6 separate regions of the Homo sapiens genome follow, and regions 1, 2, 3, 4 and 6 are each linked to region 5. Evidence: promoter capture Hi-C in 16 types of primary human blood cells and fetal thymus (Javierre and others, 2016). All regions are on one chromosome and are shown on one strand. The core of a region is centred on a gene start or on the middle of the fragment in contact, and the rest is flanking DNA. Distances in the headings are between cores, read along the strand shown.

Evidence for each region. The method cuts DNA at HindIII sites, captures the fragments that hold promoters and counts their contacts. A CHiCAGO score of 5 or more calls a contact.
Region 1: a contact is called between a fragment that was not itself captured here and the fragment with the promoter of GAD1 in region 5, in 6 of 17 cell types (megakaryocytes, erythroblasts, fetal thymus and 3 more). The highest score is 10.9, in megakaryocytes.
Region 2: a fragment that was not itself captured here is called in contact with the fragment with the promoter of GAD1 in region 5 in 1 of 17 cell types (megakaryocytes); the score reaches 10.3 in megakaryocytes.
Region 3: the fragment with the promoter of METTL8 here is called in contact with the fragment with the promoter of GAD1 in region 5 in 3 of 17 cell types (naive CD8 T cells, activated CD4 T cells and fetal thymus); the score reaches 8.3 in naive CD8 T cells.
Region 4: a fragment that was not itself captured here is called in contact with the fragment with the promoter of GAD1 in region 5 in 2 of 17 cell types (megakaryocytes and endothelial precursors); the score reaches 5.7 in megakaryocytes.
Region 6: a fragment that was not itself captured here is called in contact with the fragment with the promoter of GAD1 in region 5 in 1 of 17 cell types (megakaryocytes); the score reaches 5.3 in megakaryocytes.

What each region holds. Positions count from the first base shown.
Region 1 is chr2:170,241,661-170,244,360 of GRCh38, forward strand. The region is part of intron 7 of MYO3B (myosin IIIB); the gene reads left to right. Among named protein-coding and RNA genes, the nearest start is that of MYO3B, 65 kb to the left of the region's middle. The HindIII fragment of the contact is 1,556 bases long and covers 526-2,081 here.
Region 2 is chr2:169,932,328-169,935,027 of GRCh38, forward strand. It overlaps UBR3 (ubiquitin protein ligase E3 component n-recognin 3), which reads left to right. Exons shown (of 39, transcript NM_172070.4): 19 at 585-681. Among named protein-coding and RNA genes, the nearest start is that of UBR3, 110 kb to the left of the region's middle. The HindIII fragment of the contact is 1,630 bases long and covers 445-2,074 here.
Region 3 is chr2:171,432,540-171,435,239 of GRCh38, forward strand. METTL8 (methyltransferase 8, tRNA N3-cytidine) reads right to left here and starts at 1,451. Exons shown (of 10, transcript NM_001321154.2): 1 at 1,344-1,451. DCAF17 (DDB1 and CUL4 associated factor 17) reads left to right here and starts at 1,687. Exons shown (of 14, transcript NM_025000.4): 1 at 1,687-2,164; 2 at 2,544-2,647. The coding sequence starts at 2,039. RefSeq lists enhancers at 685-854, 832-1,392, 1,065-1,134, 1,954-2,513 and a silencer at 1,445-2,354. The HindIII fragment of the contact is 4,328 bases long and covers 1,441-2,700 here.
Region 4 is chr2:170,257,948-170,260,647 of GRCh38, forward strand. All of the region lies in intron 7 of MYO3B (myosin IIIB), which reads left to right. Among named protein-coding and RNA genes, the nearest start is that of MYO3B, 81 kb to the left of the region's middle. The HindIII fragment of the contact is 874 bases long and covers 920-1,793 here.
Region 5 is chr2:170,815,482-170,818,181 of GRCh38, forward strand. It overlaps GAD1 (glutamate decarboxylase 1), which reads left to right and starts at 1,406. Exons shown (of 17, transcript NM_000817.3): 1 at 1,406-1,567. It overlaps GAD1-AS1 (GAD1 antisense RNA 1), which reads right to left. Exons shown (of 4, transcript NR_197761.1): 2 at 2,237-2,434; 3 at 1,373-1,551; 4 at 1-1,004. RefSeq lists a silencer at 1,221-1,300 and an enhancer at 1,388-1,557. The HindIII fragment of the contact is 11,655 bases long and covers 1-2,700 here.
Region 6 is chr2:170,221,790-170,224,489 of GRCh38, forward strand. The region is part of intron 6 of MYO3B (myosin IIIB); the gene reads left to right. Among named protein-coding and RNA genes, the nearest start is that of MYO3B, 45 kb to the left of the region's middle. RefSeq lists enhancers at 1-403, 1-499. The HindIII fragment of the contact is 3,525 bases long and covers 1-2,700 here.

The sequences.
Region 1 (2,700 bases), core at 54-2,553, 570 kb before region 5:
CCTTGTGGACTGCCTGGATGCTGTGGGTAGTGGGGCAGATGGGCAAGTCACTGCTTGAAATATTTGTGTGTCTATTTGAAGAGCTTCCTCAGGGACTCAGTGCCTACAATCGACTCTCATCCTGAAATAGGATCCTTGGGCTAAATTTTTATCTTACATAGGCATTTTTTTTTTTAAGATTCCTTTTGATGCTGACTTTCCTAATTCACAAACCAAATTGTTCCTATATGGGAAGCAGTAGTCTCTGCCTGCTCCTCCGCTGTGAGATGCAGAGGCAGCAGGGAGCCCTGAGTCACCAGTAATTGTCTCACTATTACAGAATTGTCACAGGACATTTTCCTTTAGGGCTGTGAAATATAAAGGAAAGAAATTAAAACTAAACTATTGTTGAAGTGTAATGAGTGAGGGGTGCTGAGTGTTTAATGGCACAGTGAGGCTGGATTTGCCCTGGGGAGTATTGGTTTCTCTTCACCAACCCAGGTCACTTAGCTATTGGCCTTTTGAGCAATGAATCCCCACGATCCAAGCTTCACTCATAAAGCAAGAAGTGCTAGAAGAATTAGCATCATTTAGCATTTATTGAGTGCCTAATAGCAAAAAAAAAGTTTTAAAATATTCCAATAGAAAAACAGTTATGTTTTATGTATCTTTTTCTTTCTTTGAGAGATTTCTAATCCCATTTTTAATGGATTGCCTTCAGTATGTACCCTGTTCCAGATCCCCAGAATATCTTCTGGGCCCAGGACTTGACACTCCCTTTCCGTGGGAACCCAGTAGCTGGAGGCATCTGGCAGAAATGCCCCAGAAGGCTTTCACTCTGTGGAACACATTGCCAAATTATTTTTAAATTCGAGTTGAGCAGCTGGGGCCATTCAGTCCTATGTAGGTACTGCTTGCTGCCCCCTGCCTGAGTCCTGGCAGGCAGGGAGAATTTAGCTTTGCAAGGTTTCATTTGGGGATCAGGTGACAAAGCAGGAGCATGCCTTCAGGGACTTTGGGTCCCCACCACTACTGAGTAAGAAGCTCACCCTGAGAGACAGGCCAAAGGTGCGAGGGGTTGATTCCCAGCGCTATCTGTGCCTTCTTCTCATTACCCTGGTATATTATTTTGGCACAACTGACTGTGGCTAATTCCAACCCACCTCCTAAATGATGGAGAGATGGGCAAAGAAGTAGGCAAGGAAACAGAGCTCAAAATTGTGCTAGAGTTGAGGCACCCTGGTTTCCTCTCTACTCCAGAAAAAACTAAGGAATAAAGGTGAGGAATAATTATAACTGCCTTTATGGGTTGGCATAATGGTAGGGGCAGGGGTAAGACAGGGATGAGGAGCAATGAGGTGATAGTCTAAAGGAAGGTTCTTCACAGCTGGAGCTATCCATTCCTGGAGGATCCTAGAGTCAAGTGAAGCCAGTATCATTTGAAGGAAAATATAGTATAGTGGTCCAGCATGGTTGTTTGTATCAGTTAACTACTAGTATGTAACAAACCATCCCCAAACTTAGTTGCTTAAACAACAAACATTTATGATTTTTCATGAGTCTATGGGTTTCTCTGGGTGGTTCTGCAGATCTTGGCTGGGCTTGCTCATGCATCTGTGATCAGCTGAGAATGTGGCTGTGTTGGTTGGTCTAGGATAGCCTTGGCTAGGATGACTTGGCTCTGGTCCATGTTGTTTCTTATCTTCCAGCAGGCTAGCCTGAGGTAGTTCTCATATTGGTGACAGGGTTCTAAGCACAGATAGAGGAAGGAACAGAAAATTGGACCAGTTTTGCTCTCAAGTTATTACAGTGTTCTACAGTCAATCTACACGGGTTCAACTAGCAGCTCCATCACTTTCAAGTTCACCAGTGTGAACTTGACCAAGTTACTGCATGTCTGTGTGTGTCAGTGTCCTCCCTTATAAAATGAGGATTTGAGTAATGTCGACCTCATAGAGCTATTGTGGGAGTTAAAGAATGTAAATTGGTCAGAATATTTCATAGTAAGCATTCAATTCATGCTGGATGCTACCAAGGAAAATATCTCAAGGGCATATTTATACTGTAAGGAATTTTCTTTCCCTTGTAGCTGAAGAATTGAAAGCTTCTATTCAAAAAGAGCCACCCATGAGATCAGTCATTTGAAAGTTCAGCTAATTGATTGATTGATGATTGTATGAGGAATTAAGAGAGAATGAAGGCTGATTTCTGAAGTCCCTACTACTTACATTGCATCTATGTGAAGGACTCTGCCATTAGTATCCATTGTCACAACTCCTTTGTAAATAGACACACTCTTAAGAGATACGGTCACATACACCTCACCCTCACACACATACATGAATGCTGTGACAGGAACTGCACATGAGGAAGCAGGGCTGGCCTTAGTCTCCACTGCCATGATGTCTACAACGAGTGGTGATGCTGTCATCCTCTGAAGAGAACTAGGGCCATGGTACTTTTCCTTTGCTATCAGTTCTATCAGTTTTTGTGGTGGTTTTGTGCTCGGTTGATGAGTCGTATGACTGGTCTTGGCTGCCTCCTTCTATAGGGTCCTTTTAGCCCCCTTAGTAGGTTCAACCTTCTCCAGGGTTCTAGAAATTTTTTTGTCTGCAGATAAAGGGACAATAGCAAGAGTTCTAAACTTAGGGTCATTGATTCAAAATTGAGTCCCATTTTGCTATTTCCTCTACCACAGATAATATTTTTTTTCCCAGCCCC
Region 2 (2,700 bases), core at 10-2,509, 880 kb before region 5:
TCAGCTGCCCAAAGTGCTGGGATTACAGGCATGAGCCACCGTGTCCAGCCTCATTAATCTTTAAATCTAGTTTTCATGTTTTTACTTTTAAGTACTTTTTTTGTTTAATACTTTTTTTGGGAAATGAGGTCTGTCTTTGTTGCCTGGGCTGGTCTCAAACTCCTGGGTTCAGGTGAGCCTCCTGCCTAAGCCTCCCAAGTAGTTGGGACTAGAGGTGTAAGGCATCATGCCCTGCTTAACTTTAAATACTCTCAGAGATCCTAACCTGCTGTGTTTCTTTCTAATTGGCACCTTACAAACAACAACAACAACAATGAAGTAAACTTTTCTGGTGAGGCATTGTTGTATTACAAAACTTTTGTTCTTTAGTGCTTGCTGAACTCAAGAGAACATTCCTGATGATGAAATTGTGATTTTTGACTTAGAAAAGTAATCATGGCATCAAGCTTCTTAAGGCAAATACTATAATCAGATTAAATTGTTCTGTGTTTTAAATGTAAAATATACTTAACAAATGTAATAAGTCAATAAATATTGATTTTATTTCTGAGAAGTCAATGTTTCTACTTTCTTTTGAATAATAGCTGAAGTCTGGGATCAAGAGTTTGACCCCGTCATGGTCATTCTTCGAACAGTTTACCGTAGAGATGTGCAGTCTGCAATGGACAGATATACTGCATTGTAAGTCCATCAAATTGATTAGCATCATAACAGTATTTTATATTTATATGGAAAAATTTCAGTGATAACACAGATATGATATGCTCTCATTAAAGTATACTTTCATTCTTTAAAGGTGAAAATAATAATTTAAGGTTTAAAAAATAATCTGGTGGAGATTTATGTTAAGATCTTTATCCAAAATTTGATGTTAATCTGATAAATTTAGAACATGATCACTAAATTAAAAAACAGAAACTTATTTAGTTGCTGTTCCATCAGTGGAATTAAAGGCTTGGTTTTGTGTTGTTCTACTTTTGAACCAGTAGGGGAGGCACAAGTTAAGAGAATAGAATTCTCTGACATCAGAGATGGTGACGGGTGTCTGTAATAAGTGAACATATTTCTGTGTTCATGACAACTGGGAAAATAGCCAAAGCAAAATTAATTTTACTTGTAAATATTTAACAAAATAGTTTACGGTATTGATGACTGCAGAAGACAAAAATTTTGAAAGATATCTTTTAAATGCAGAATTCAATTTTGTATGTTATTGTAAATTGTAGACCATTGTAAATGTATTATTTCACCTCTTTTTAAACCTTAATAGTTAATATTATATTGCCAAATATCACAAGATATCATCTTTTACTTGTGCTTTCCTACAGCTAAAGTTAAACATTTAAAAAGCAAGTTTAAATGATGCAAATGTCCTTGATTTTGAGAAAGTATTAGTACTTATCCAGATAACTATCAAAGTGAAACTTCTCTTTTGCCAAGACTTTGCAGTAATAGAAATATCTATCACAGACAAATATCTGAAGAAAATTTTTAATGTGGAATTTTAATTCACTTCCTCCCCCAAACAAAACCAAAACGATCTTTAAATCAATAACAACAACAACAACAACAACAACAACCCAGTTCAGCCATCGGCATCTCTCTCTCCGTTTCTCTAAACCCTTGGAGAAATTAGACTGAGGTTCTCTTTCTCTGGTTTCTTAACTCCCTCTTTTTCTGCTTTTCATATAGTTTTGTAAAAATGTACTTGCTTGTAGTCTTTTACTTAACTCTTAGCTCCTTGAGGGAATATATTTTTATCTCTGTATCTCGTCTACATCTTTAATACTTATCTCAATTCTGGCACTTAGTAGGTATTCATAATATATTTGTTGAATAAATAAATTTGAGTAATTCCTGTTGAAAAATTGAAAAATGAAGAAAATTGGGAAGAAGCATTTGCATGGAAAACCTTATTGAGACTTCATAAACACCAGTCTTAAATGGCTCTGCCTTTTTTTCAGGGTAGTGATGATGGTTAGTTGTTTTGAATGTATAAGAATTAAGTAAATTTTATTCTCTTTTACTTTGTAGTTACTAGAAATTTGTACTGAGATTGGGCTGAAACTTTCAAAGCTTTGAAGGAATCATTAAATAATGTAATCAATTTTAAATGGGAAATTTTATTTAACAGTACATATTTATTGAATGCTCTGCCTCGGCCTCCCAAAGTGTTGGGATTACACACATGAGCCACCGTGCCTGGCCGATTTGTTTGCTATTGATCATTTTCATCTGCTTTTTAATTTTAAGGGACAAAAAGTGGCTTAACTGATTATACTGGGAGGGATCTTTTCTTATTTGTAAGCAGGCCTTTTGGAGGTCATCTTGCAAACTAAAATGAAAAATGGTCAGATAAATTTAAACTTTTGTGTTCTCACAATTTAGCTCTGTGCCAGGCACTTTAAAGGCAATCAGTAAATATTTGTTAAACGAATGAAAAGTAGATTTCTTTCAGTTTTTGTGCTGAGAGTTTAAGTGAAAGTAAGCCGTTTGCTTTATGTGATGCTTAGATGCTTAGAATTTTAGGCTCTTATTGCTGGAAAAGGCCTTTAAGATCTAGTCCAGGTTTTATAAAAGCGTCTTGTGGGCCATCACTGGAAGACAGAGTTGGGCAACAGCAAGAAGAGGCTTAAGCGAGTGAAAGTGGCTCATCCTGCTTCCCTCACTCCCTTCCAAATACCCCTGAGTGGGCATTCA
Region 3 (2,700 bases), core at 201-2,700, 620 kb after region 5:
TATCTTTTCTGGGTTCCAGTTTTCTCAGTGACAGCTGCATTCATGAATTACCAAATTAACTATTGTAGCACTCTCTAAAAATATACAAAGCACTCTACCGTATGCTGTAAATAAGTCATGAAAAATCAGCAAAAGCTCGAGCCCTGAAGGAAATTCAGCAGGGTTAAAAAGAGATATGGCCAATGTTTACTAAACACTTAAACTGTGACCCAACACACTCACCCAGTACTGTAAGTACTCACTTAATGTCATCAACAGATTTTTGGAAACTGACTGTAAGCAAAATGACATATAACAAAACCATTTTTACCATAGGCCAATTGATATAAACAAAAGTTAAGTTCCTATAACATATTTCTGGTCACAAAAACATCACCAAACTCCTAAATACAAACCAAAACACTTCTAATATTAAACATTGAAATAAATGGGAGCTATACATACATTTAAGGAAGATTAATAAAAACAAGTAAGATAGTTATTTACCTAATTATTCCAGTTCAGGGTCGAGGGTGGCTGAAGCCTATCCCCTCAGCTCAGGGTGCAAGGTGGGAACCAACCCTTGGACACGACGACATTCCATCGCAGGGAGCACTCACACTCACACTCAGACAGGAAACACAGACAAGGCCAATTCATCCAGCCTGCACTGAGATGTGGGAGGCAGTACCCTGGGGTACCTGGTGAAAACCCATGCAGACGTGGGGAGAAGGGGCAAGATCCACACAAACAGTAGCCCCGGTAGGAAATTATTATTTTTTCTCATCAAGTTATACAAAATGACACTGAACGAAAAAATGCGATTCAAGGACCTGCTGTACTGTACTTTTTGCTCTGCCAGTCAGGTGCGATCGCTGGCTTTCTTTGAGCACCTATGAACAAGAGGTAGCATGCCCAAGTCCACGTGGGAGATACAGCGGCCCCACCCTTAAGGGACTTAGAGCATGGCGGTGGGACACATGTGGTGCAAGCTTGCTGAAAGTTTAGTGTGCTGGGAACTTTGAACATACAGGCAGGGCTAGTTAACAAAGTATATCTTTTACTTAGAGACATCGACGAGGAATATCTTAGGCCGTCCAATAAGAATGTAAGCATTTCATATTTTATTCCCTATAAAGAAAAAAGAATGGAGGCGAGAGGAAATGAAATGAAGCAATTATCGCAAAACCAGTCAGTGTCCCCGCAGGCCACCCAAGGACAAGCCTCCGGGAAAGAGTAACTCAATCCCAGTTTGGAGGGTGAAACTAAGAGTGAATGGGAAGCCAGCATCTTCCTAATACAAAAGCACAGTTTACCGTCCCCCTCAGCCAACATGCGGCTGAAGGGAAAGCCGCGGGGCGTACCTTTAGCACGGGACGCTGCTTTGGGGGGATCGCCCTCGACACAGCGCCCCTCCCGGCACCTGGCCAGAACCTCCCAGGGCGAAGGTCGGGGCCGAGAAGCTTGTGAGTACCGGGGCAGTGAGGGAGGGATCCCTAAGTGCAGGGCGCACACACGGGGCGGAGACCTGGAGGCGGCAGCACCGCGCCCCCAGGGCTCTGCCCAGCTAGCCACTCGCAGCACAGAGAAGCGCGCCCGCAAGACAGCGCAGCCTCCGCGGGCCGGAGGAGGCGGGGCCGCGGCAGGCAGAGGCAGGGCCGGGCAAGCCCTCGCTCCCCGCCGCCTGACGGGAATTGTAGTTCCTGGGAGAAGCCGGGCTGCCTCACGAGGCACTAGGAACTACATTTCCCGGTGAGAGAGCGGCTCCGGCCGGCCGCGCGGTACCGGAGCGTCGCACTGTCAGCGGCCAGAGAGCCTGGGGCAGATCGAAAAGGGAGTGCTTCTTCCCTTCTCTCCGCGCTCTGGCGGTGCAAGCGGCTCTGCTTTCCCTCGCCCCGCCGTCGGGTGCTCCCTGCCCGCCTCCCCGTGTCAGCTTTCCCTGGGCCCCGCCGGGAAAGTCTGGGCCTCGAAATTCGAAGGCAGCGGCGGCTGCCCAGCACGGGAGTGTGGGGCGCGCCACTCGGCGGCCCAGCCTACCCAGGGCCCGGCCCGCGCCTCCATGGGCCCGACCCGGAAGCCCAACGTGTGCAGCCGGCTGAGTCGCCGGGCGCTGGGCTGCTTCTCGCGCGACGCAGGCGTGGTGCAGAGGACCAACCTGGGCATCCTGCGGGCGCTGGTGTGCCAGGTGACCGCCAGCCGGCCGGGGCGGGACGGAGGGCCGCGGGCGCGCGGCGGCCGAGCCTCCTGCGGGGATGCGGTTTTAACGCGCTGGGGCCTCCCTTTATAGGGTCACATGTGATGGGGAGGAGGATACAAGCCCGGAATCTGGGATAGGTGGTAATAGGGCCACCAGCTGCTTTTAGTTTTACGCTTCTTATGTCTTACCTGGAAACAATTATTCTAAAAGTTGGTCACCTCATTAAGCCAAAACATGAGGGCAGAGTGGAGGAAGGATGCAAAAAGTTTTAAAATAATATAGGTGACATTATGTTGCTTTGAAAATTTAAAATCTAACTTAAAGCCTAAGAGTTCTTTCCTGAACGGAAATTCTTTATGTCTTTTAGGAAAGTACTAAATTTAAGAATGTCTGGACAACTCATTCCAGGTCACCTATAGCCTATGAGAGAGGAAGAATATATTTTGACAATTATCGGCGCTGTGTCAGCAGGTAACTTTTTATTGATAATTTTGCTGTAATTCACCTCACTGTTGATCTTAACT
Region 4 (2,700 bases), core at 107-2,606, 560 kb before region 5:
ACAAACTAGAAAATCTAGAGGAAATGGATAAATTCCTGGAAATGTACAACCTCCCAAAATTGAATCAGAAATTAATTGAAACCCTAAACAGATCAATAACAAGTTCTGAAATTGAATCACTATTTAAAAATTTTAAAAACCTGGCAACCTAAAAAGCTATGGACTAGATGGATTCCCAGCTGAATTCTACCAGACAGACAAAGAGCTGGTACCAATCCTACTGAAATTATCCACAAAAGTCAAGGAGGACAGACTCCTCCCTAACTTATTCTATGAAGCCAGCATCATTCTGATACCAATGAGACAGTGAAAAAAGAAAACGTCAGGCCAGTATCCCTGATGAATATAGATACAAAAATCCTCAACAAAATACTGGCAAACTGAATCTGGCAGAACATCAGAAAGTTAATTCATTACAATCAGGTAGGCTTTCTTCCTGAGATGCAAGGTGGGTTCAACATATGCAAATCAATAAATGTGATTCACCACATAAACAGAATTAAAAGAAAAAATCATATGATCATCTCAATAGATATAGAAAAAGCTTCTGATAAAATCCGATATTCAGTTAAGACAAAAATCCTCAAAAAACTAGGCATCAAAGGAACATCCTGAAAATAATGAGTCATCTATGACAAACCCACAGCCAACATGATACTGAATGGGAAAAAGCTGGAAGCATTTCCCTTAAGAACTGGAACAAGACAATGATGCCCACGTTCACTACTTCTATATGTCATAGTATTGGAAGTTCTAGCCAGAGCAGTCAGAGGAGAAAACGAAATAAAAGGCATCCATATAGGAAAAGCAAAAGACAAATTATCTCTCTTCACTGATGATATGATTTGATACCTAGAAAACCTTAAACCTTAAAGACTCCACCTAAAAGGCTCCTAGAACTGATAAACGACTTCAGTAAAGCTTCAGGATACAAAATTATCGTACAAAAATCAGTAGTATTTCTATACACCAGTCTTGTTCAAACTGAGAGCCAAATCAAGAACACTGTCCAATTTACAATACACACACACAACCTAGGAATTCATCTAACCAAGGAGGTGAAAGATCTCTACGAGGATAACTAAAAATGAAACACTGCTGAAAGAAATCATAGATGACACAAACAAATGGAAAAACATTCCATGCTCATGGACTGGAAAAATCAGTGTTGTTAAAAAGGCCATTCTGTCCCTTAGCAATCTATAGATTCAACACTATTCCTATGAAACTACCGATGTCATTTTTCATAGAATTATAAAAAACTATTCTAACATTTATATGGAACAAAAAAAGAGCCCAAATAGCTGAAGCAATCCTAAGCAAAAAGAACACAGCCAGAGGCATCACGTCACTCAACTTCAAACTATACTGCAAGGTTACAGTAGCCAAAAAGCATGGTACTGGTATAAAAACAGTCACATACACCAATGGAACAGAATAGATTACCCAGAAATAAAGCCACTATAACCATCTAATCTTCAACAAAGTCAACACAAATAAGCAATGGGGAAAGGACTCCCTTTTCAATAAATCGTGCTTGGATAACTGGCTATCCTTTTGCAGAAGAATGAAGCTAGACTCCTACCTATTACCATATACAAAAATTAACTCAGGATGGATTAAAAACTTAGGACCTAAAACTATAAAAATCCAACTGGAAGCCTAGGAAATGCTATTATGGACATTGGCCTTGGCAAAGAATTTATGACAAAGTCCTCAAAAGTAGTTGCAATGAAAACACAAATAGACAAGTGGGACATAATTAAACACAAATTGATAAGTGGGACACATTAAGCTTTTGCATAGCAAAATAAAATATCAATAAATGGATAACTTACAGAATGGGAGAATATATTCACCAACTATGCATCCACAAAGGTCAAATATCCAGAATGTGTAAGGAACTTAAATAATCTAACAAGCAAAAAACATATAACCCCCTTAAAAAGTGGGCAAAGGACATGAAGAGATAGATACATCTCAGAAGAAGACACACAAGCAGCCAACAAACATGAAAAAAAAAAAGCTCAACACCACTAATCATCAGACAAATGCAAATCAAAACAACAATGAAATATCTCACATTAGTCAGAATGGCTATTATTAAAAAGTCAAAAAATAACATGTTGGTGAGGCTGCAGAGAAAAGGGAATGCTCATACACTATTGATGGGAATGTAAATTAGTTAAGCAGTGGAAAGCAGTTTTGAGATTTCTCAAAGAACTAAAAGAAGAACGACCATTCAACCCAGCAATCCCATTACTGGGTATATGCCCAAAGGAAAAGAAATCATTCTACCAAAAAGACACATGTGCATGTATGTTAATTGCAGCACCATTCACAATAGCAAAGACATAGGTGCCCATCAGTGGTGGATTGGATAAAGAAAATGTGGTACATATATATCATGGAATACTATGCAGCCATAAAAAGGGATAAAATCATGTTCTTTGCAGCAGCATGGATGCAGCTGGATGCTATTATCCTAAGTGAATTAGTGCAGAAACAGAAAACTAAATGCCATATGTTATCACTTAAAAGTGGCAGCTAAACATTGGGTACACACAGACATAAAGATTGGAACAGTAGACACTGGGGACTACTGGAGTTGGGAGAGGAGAAGAAGGGTTGAAAAACCACCTATTGGGTACTGTGCTCACTACTTGGGTGATGGGACCAATTGTATCCCAAACTGAAGCA
Region 5 (2,700 bases), core at 156-2,655:
CTCGGTAATTTATAATATTTTTGTGTGTGTTTCCATTGTGTTGTGGTGAAAGGCGATAAGGCATTCAAAGAAAACGGACGGGCCTCCGCTGAACCAGTGAGGCCCCAGACGTGCGCATAAATAACCCCTGCGTGCTGCACCACCTGGGGAGAGGGGGAGGACCACGGTAAATACCAGTAAAGGAATCACTGCCTACACGGTGTCACCCAGACACGCACAGACATCAACATTTTTGCCCTAAAGAAAAAAACTGGGGGAGAAGAAAGGGGAGAACTTAAACTAGTGACAGGGCGGTGAGGGAAGGCATGAAGAGGCAAGCCGGCGCGTAACCGTCTGGCCAGCAGCTCCAGGTGTGGGCTCCGCTCGGGCGCTGGCGGAGAGACCCGGGAGCGCAGGGCCTCTCCGTCTCTGGGCTCTTGGCGCCCTCTGGTGGGAATTTCTCTTTCAACGCATTTTTACGGCGAGGGGCTTCTCCCAACGCAGCGGTTCTTTTAACTACGCCTAAATATTGCAAAGGGAGAATCCTTAAAGCGCGTGAAATCGAAGGGGGAGCGGGCCAGGGCAAGGGGGGCTGGTCCGCCCCTTCCGGGCACCTCTGTGCTCGGGTGCCCCATGCGCGTGCAGCGGCGCTCGTGCGTGTCATCAACCTTCAAACGTGATTAATCAGGAGGCCTTCTTTTCCCATCACCAAGGGGGCCAAAGCGAGGAGCGAGCGCATAGCAAAAGGGACGCGGGGTCCTTTTCTCTGCCGGTGGCACTGGGTAGCTGTGGCCAGGTGTGGTACTTTGATGGGGCCCAGGGCTGGATGAGGAAACTGTAATTCCTCCATGGTCTAAGAGGTCTCCCCTCATTTCTGCCTCCTTTGCGGTTACAACAATCCCAGCTCCGTAGAGAGCCAACGAGGACACGACCCAAAGCGCGCTTTCGCTCAAGGAAGCGTCGCAGGGTCACAGATCTGGGGGAACCCCGGGGAAAAGCACTGAGGCAAAACCGCCGCTCGTCTCCTACAATATATGGGAGGGGGAGGGGAAATGGGAGAGGGGAAAGGAGGGGAGGGAAGAAGAAACGCTCAGAAAGGCAGAATTCTTCGTAGGAATTATCTTTTCCCTCCTCTCACCCGACAGCCTGCCTATTTCCAAAGGAAAAAAAAAAAGCGTGTTGAGTACGTTCTGGATTACTCATAAGACCTTTTTTTTTTCCTTCCGGGCGCAAAACCGTGAGCTGGATTTATAATCGCCCTATAAAGCTCCAGAGGCGGTCAGGCACCTGCAGAGGAGCCCCGCCGCTCCGCCGACTAGCTGCCCCCGCGAGCAACGGCCTCGTGATTTCCCCGCCGATCCGGTCCCCGCCTCCCCACTCTGCCCCCGCCTACCCCGGAGCCGTGCAGCCGCCTCTCCGAATCTCTCTCTTCTCCTGGCGCTCGCGTGCGAGAGGGAACTAGCGAGAACGAGGAAGCAGCTGGAGGTGACGCCGGGCAGATTACGCCTGTCAGGGCCGAGCCGAGCGGATCGCTGGGCGCTGTGCAGAGGAAAGGCGGGAGTGCCCGGCTCGCTGTCGCAGAGCCGAGGTGGGTAAGCTAGCGACCACCTGGACTTCCCAGCGCCCAACCGTGGCTTTTCAGCCAGGTCCTCTCCTCCCGCGGCTTCTCAACCAACCCCATCCCAGCGCCGGCCACCCAACCTCCCGAAATGAGTGCTTCCTGCCCGCCCTAGTCCCTGCTCTCCACGGGTGCGCTGCGCAGGGACCCCCCCCCCCCCGCCTCCCTCGTCACTCTTCTTATCCCTGCCCTCCGGATTCACGCCCCGGGGAAGCACGGAGGCTGAGGCTCTAGTTGAAGTGGGGCAAGAGCGATTTTCCCTTGAGCTTCCATGCTGCGAGCGCCTGTCCCTCCAAAGGGCGCCTGGGCAGCAGCAGCCGAAGGCGCTACTAGGAACGGTAACCTGTTACTTTTCCAGGGGCCGTAGTCGACCCGCTGCCCGAGTTGCTGTGCGACTGCGCGCGCGGGGCTAGGAGTGAGGTCGGAGGGAGGGTGTGGAGGCGATGGCCGGTGGGCCCTTCTCTGTGGGGTCCTCGATCTACCCAGATTAGCCCGCAATCTCTCTGTCCCGGGGCCTTCGGGCGCCATCGCGCCAGCGCCGAGAGTCGAGCAGGGGCGCCGCGCAAGATCTTTGTCCGCCGCCTCCTGCGCGCTGCGCGCAAGTTCGTTTCCCCGGTGACGTTCCCCATGCTTACTTACCCCACCCTCTCTGGATCTGTACCGCGAGAAATCTGGGGTCCTCAGGGGGCTAGGTAGAGGAGAAACGCTGAAACCGGACCGAAACCTCGCCCTAGGCTTAGCGATGGCTAAAAACCGGCTGGGATAAGAGGGAGGCAAGCAACATTCCGACTCGCTGCTTTCTGGCTGTCTGGAGTGCAAGGTGACTGTGGTTCTTCTCTGGCCAAGTCCGAGGGAGAACGTAAAGATATGGGCCTTTTTCCCCCTCTCACCTTGTCTCACCAAAGTCCCTAGTCCCCGGAGCAGTTAGCCTCTTTCTTTCCAGGGAATTAGCCAGACACAACAACGGGAACCAGACACCGAACCAGACATGCCCGCCCCGTGCGCCCTCCCCCCGCTGGCCCACACGCCGGCTGCTGAGTGCCCAATGGGGCTTGTAGCGGCTCGGCTGGAAAATCGCTCACTGAGCGCTCCCCTGTGCTCCT
Region 6 (2,700 bases), core at 100-2,599, 590 kb before region 5:
CTCCTAAGCTCAAGCATTCCTTCTGCTTCAGCCTCCCGAGTAGCTGGGACTACAGGGCATGCCCCAACATGCCTGGCTTAAGATCAGAACAATTTTTTATAAACTAAACACACTGTATGTGAGTAGCATACTGTGACTACAGGAAAGATTATCTTAAGAGAGAAAGAAAAATTTCACATGGAGACTATTTAGGAGATTATCATGAGCAAAATAACTTGAACAATAGATAATTAAGTTTCTCGTATAATAAGATCAGAGGTAGTTTGTTCCGGAGTTTGTTGATTTAGCAGCTCATAATAATAGAGTCATGAAAACTTCCGATTTTTAAATCTCCCTGGCTATGACTGCTGCAAGCTGCATGGCTTCATTGTTCTGGGACTGACTTTAGGGCAGTTATGACAACAGTGCCTGTGAATATCTGAGGGGCAGTAGTGGCTCCAACATGCCAATAGCCACAGGTGAAGGCACTCATGGTGCAACCAAACAGCGAGAAGTTAAAGTGGGTTTTCCTCCTCTCTTGGGGTTGAAGACTTTTCCACCCTATATTTATTTTCCCGGTCTGCTGTAATCAAGTAGTACAAACTGGGTAGCTTTAAACAACAGAAATATATTATCTCACACTTCTGGAGGCTAGAAATCTGAAACCAAGATGCCAGCAGGCTTCCTCTGAAGCCTCTAGGGGAGGGATCTTGCTTTGTCTCTTCCCAGCTACTGGAGGTTTGCTGGTGATCTTTGGTGTTCCCTGGCTTGCAAGCTGCGTAACTCCAGTCTCTGCCTTTGTAGTGCCGTGGTATTTTCTCTGTGTGTCTTCACATGTCCATGACTTCTTATAAGAACACCAGTCCCGTCGGATTAGAGGCCCACCCTACTCCAGTATGACCTCATCTGAATTCAACTAATTGTATATACAGTGACCCTATTTCCAAATAAGTTCACGTTCTGAGATTCTGGGGGCTAGGACTTAAATGTATCTTTTTTTTGGAGGACACAGTTCAACCAATAACAAGCTCCCAAATACTAATATTTAGCACCCTTCCTTTGTATTAAATCATTCAAGTTTCCAAGGTAATTAGTCAACTATTTAGAACCTGCAGGGCTGCAGGTTATAGATGCTAGCATAGTGAGAGGCTCAGCTTTGCCTGTTTACACACACATACACAACCACCTCCCCTACTCCACACACACCACACACATAGACTGTCTGCACTCTCTCAGCCTTTGGTGTTTGAGGCAAACGTGGTTCTTTCTGAAGGTACAAAGCATACCAAATTGCCTTCCTGTGTGGGCGCCCAACACCCCCAGACTTTTGTTCTCTCCTACCTACTCTCAGGCAAAGCATTTTTAAAATTATTATTATCTCCTGAGATGTTTGGCCAGCTCATAGTCACTTCCTTGAACCTTCTCTTTACCTGATTAAGCCTCTCTGGTCTCCTGACCTAAAACTTTAGCCTGCATTTTATGCACTTAAAAAAACTCACAAAAACAACACAGTCTTCCTATTAGCCATGTTTATTATCTCTTTTCTCCTCCACTATCTCCTGACAGCCAATTTCTTATAGTAAGTAATATGAATAATAGTATCCCACATTTGCGTAGAATTTTTACAAATAGTATTTTAAAAACACTGTCATCTACCTGTGAGAGTGCCACTCGGGCATGATTACATTGATGTTGTAGATAAAGAATCTAAGGCTTTGTCAGGCCAAGTGTCCATAGACACAGAGTGGGTAGGTGGGTAATGGTGACTGGAATCCATATTTTGTGACTTATTCAACTAAGGGATTTCCAATGTAACCCGTGTCCGCTGTTAATATTGCTCAACCAATTTTTATATCAAACACATGCCAGGTAATATCCTGGCCTATAGCAAAAGGGATACAAGCCTAGTTTATGTTGATTAATGGTAATGGCAGGGGGTTAGGGGTAGTTGATACCTAAAAAACTTTTTCTACCATCACATATAGCAAAGAATTAAACTCAGTGTTTGTAAGTGACTGAAACCCAAGAGAAAGAACCAATGTTGTCATTATCGTTTTTATTGAGGACACCAGTAGACTTTGAAAATAATGGCTTATATTTAGCTGATGTACACTGTGTGGCCAGGCTGGTTGTTAAGATATTAAACTATTCATTCTGGATGGTAAATGGCTGCCATCCAGAGCCCCTTGAGTGCTCCTCAGCCACCAGAGGTGCCCTGTCTTTTACCCTGGGACATTTCTGACCTGATGATCCAGTAACTATGGGGGGAAAGGTCTGTTTGACAAGCAGGGATGGCCAGTGCCACATGCCACCTGATTGTCAGATATTTTGAACATTGCACTTGCTAAGCAGAGGCATAGTGGGAAGGAAACTTTCACTTACTGAGGACTGACTCTATACCAGGGACTATGATAGGGGCTTTTAAAATATTTTATTTCATTTTCACAACAGCTCTCAATAGTGGATGTTATTTTCTCCATTTGATCACTGAGGAAAGTGAGGCTTAAAGAGCTATAGGAGGAATCGAGCCCAAATTCACATACCTAGTAAATATTGAAGCTGTTTGGCTTTTCAGAGAGCATGGGAATGCAAGTCCCATTTTGCAGATGAAGAAACCAAGGCAGGGAAAGGATACTTGTACTCTCACTTTACAGTGTGTTCATATGGGATATTCATTGTGGAAAATGTGTACCAGCTAACTGAGACACCAGCTCATATAAC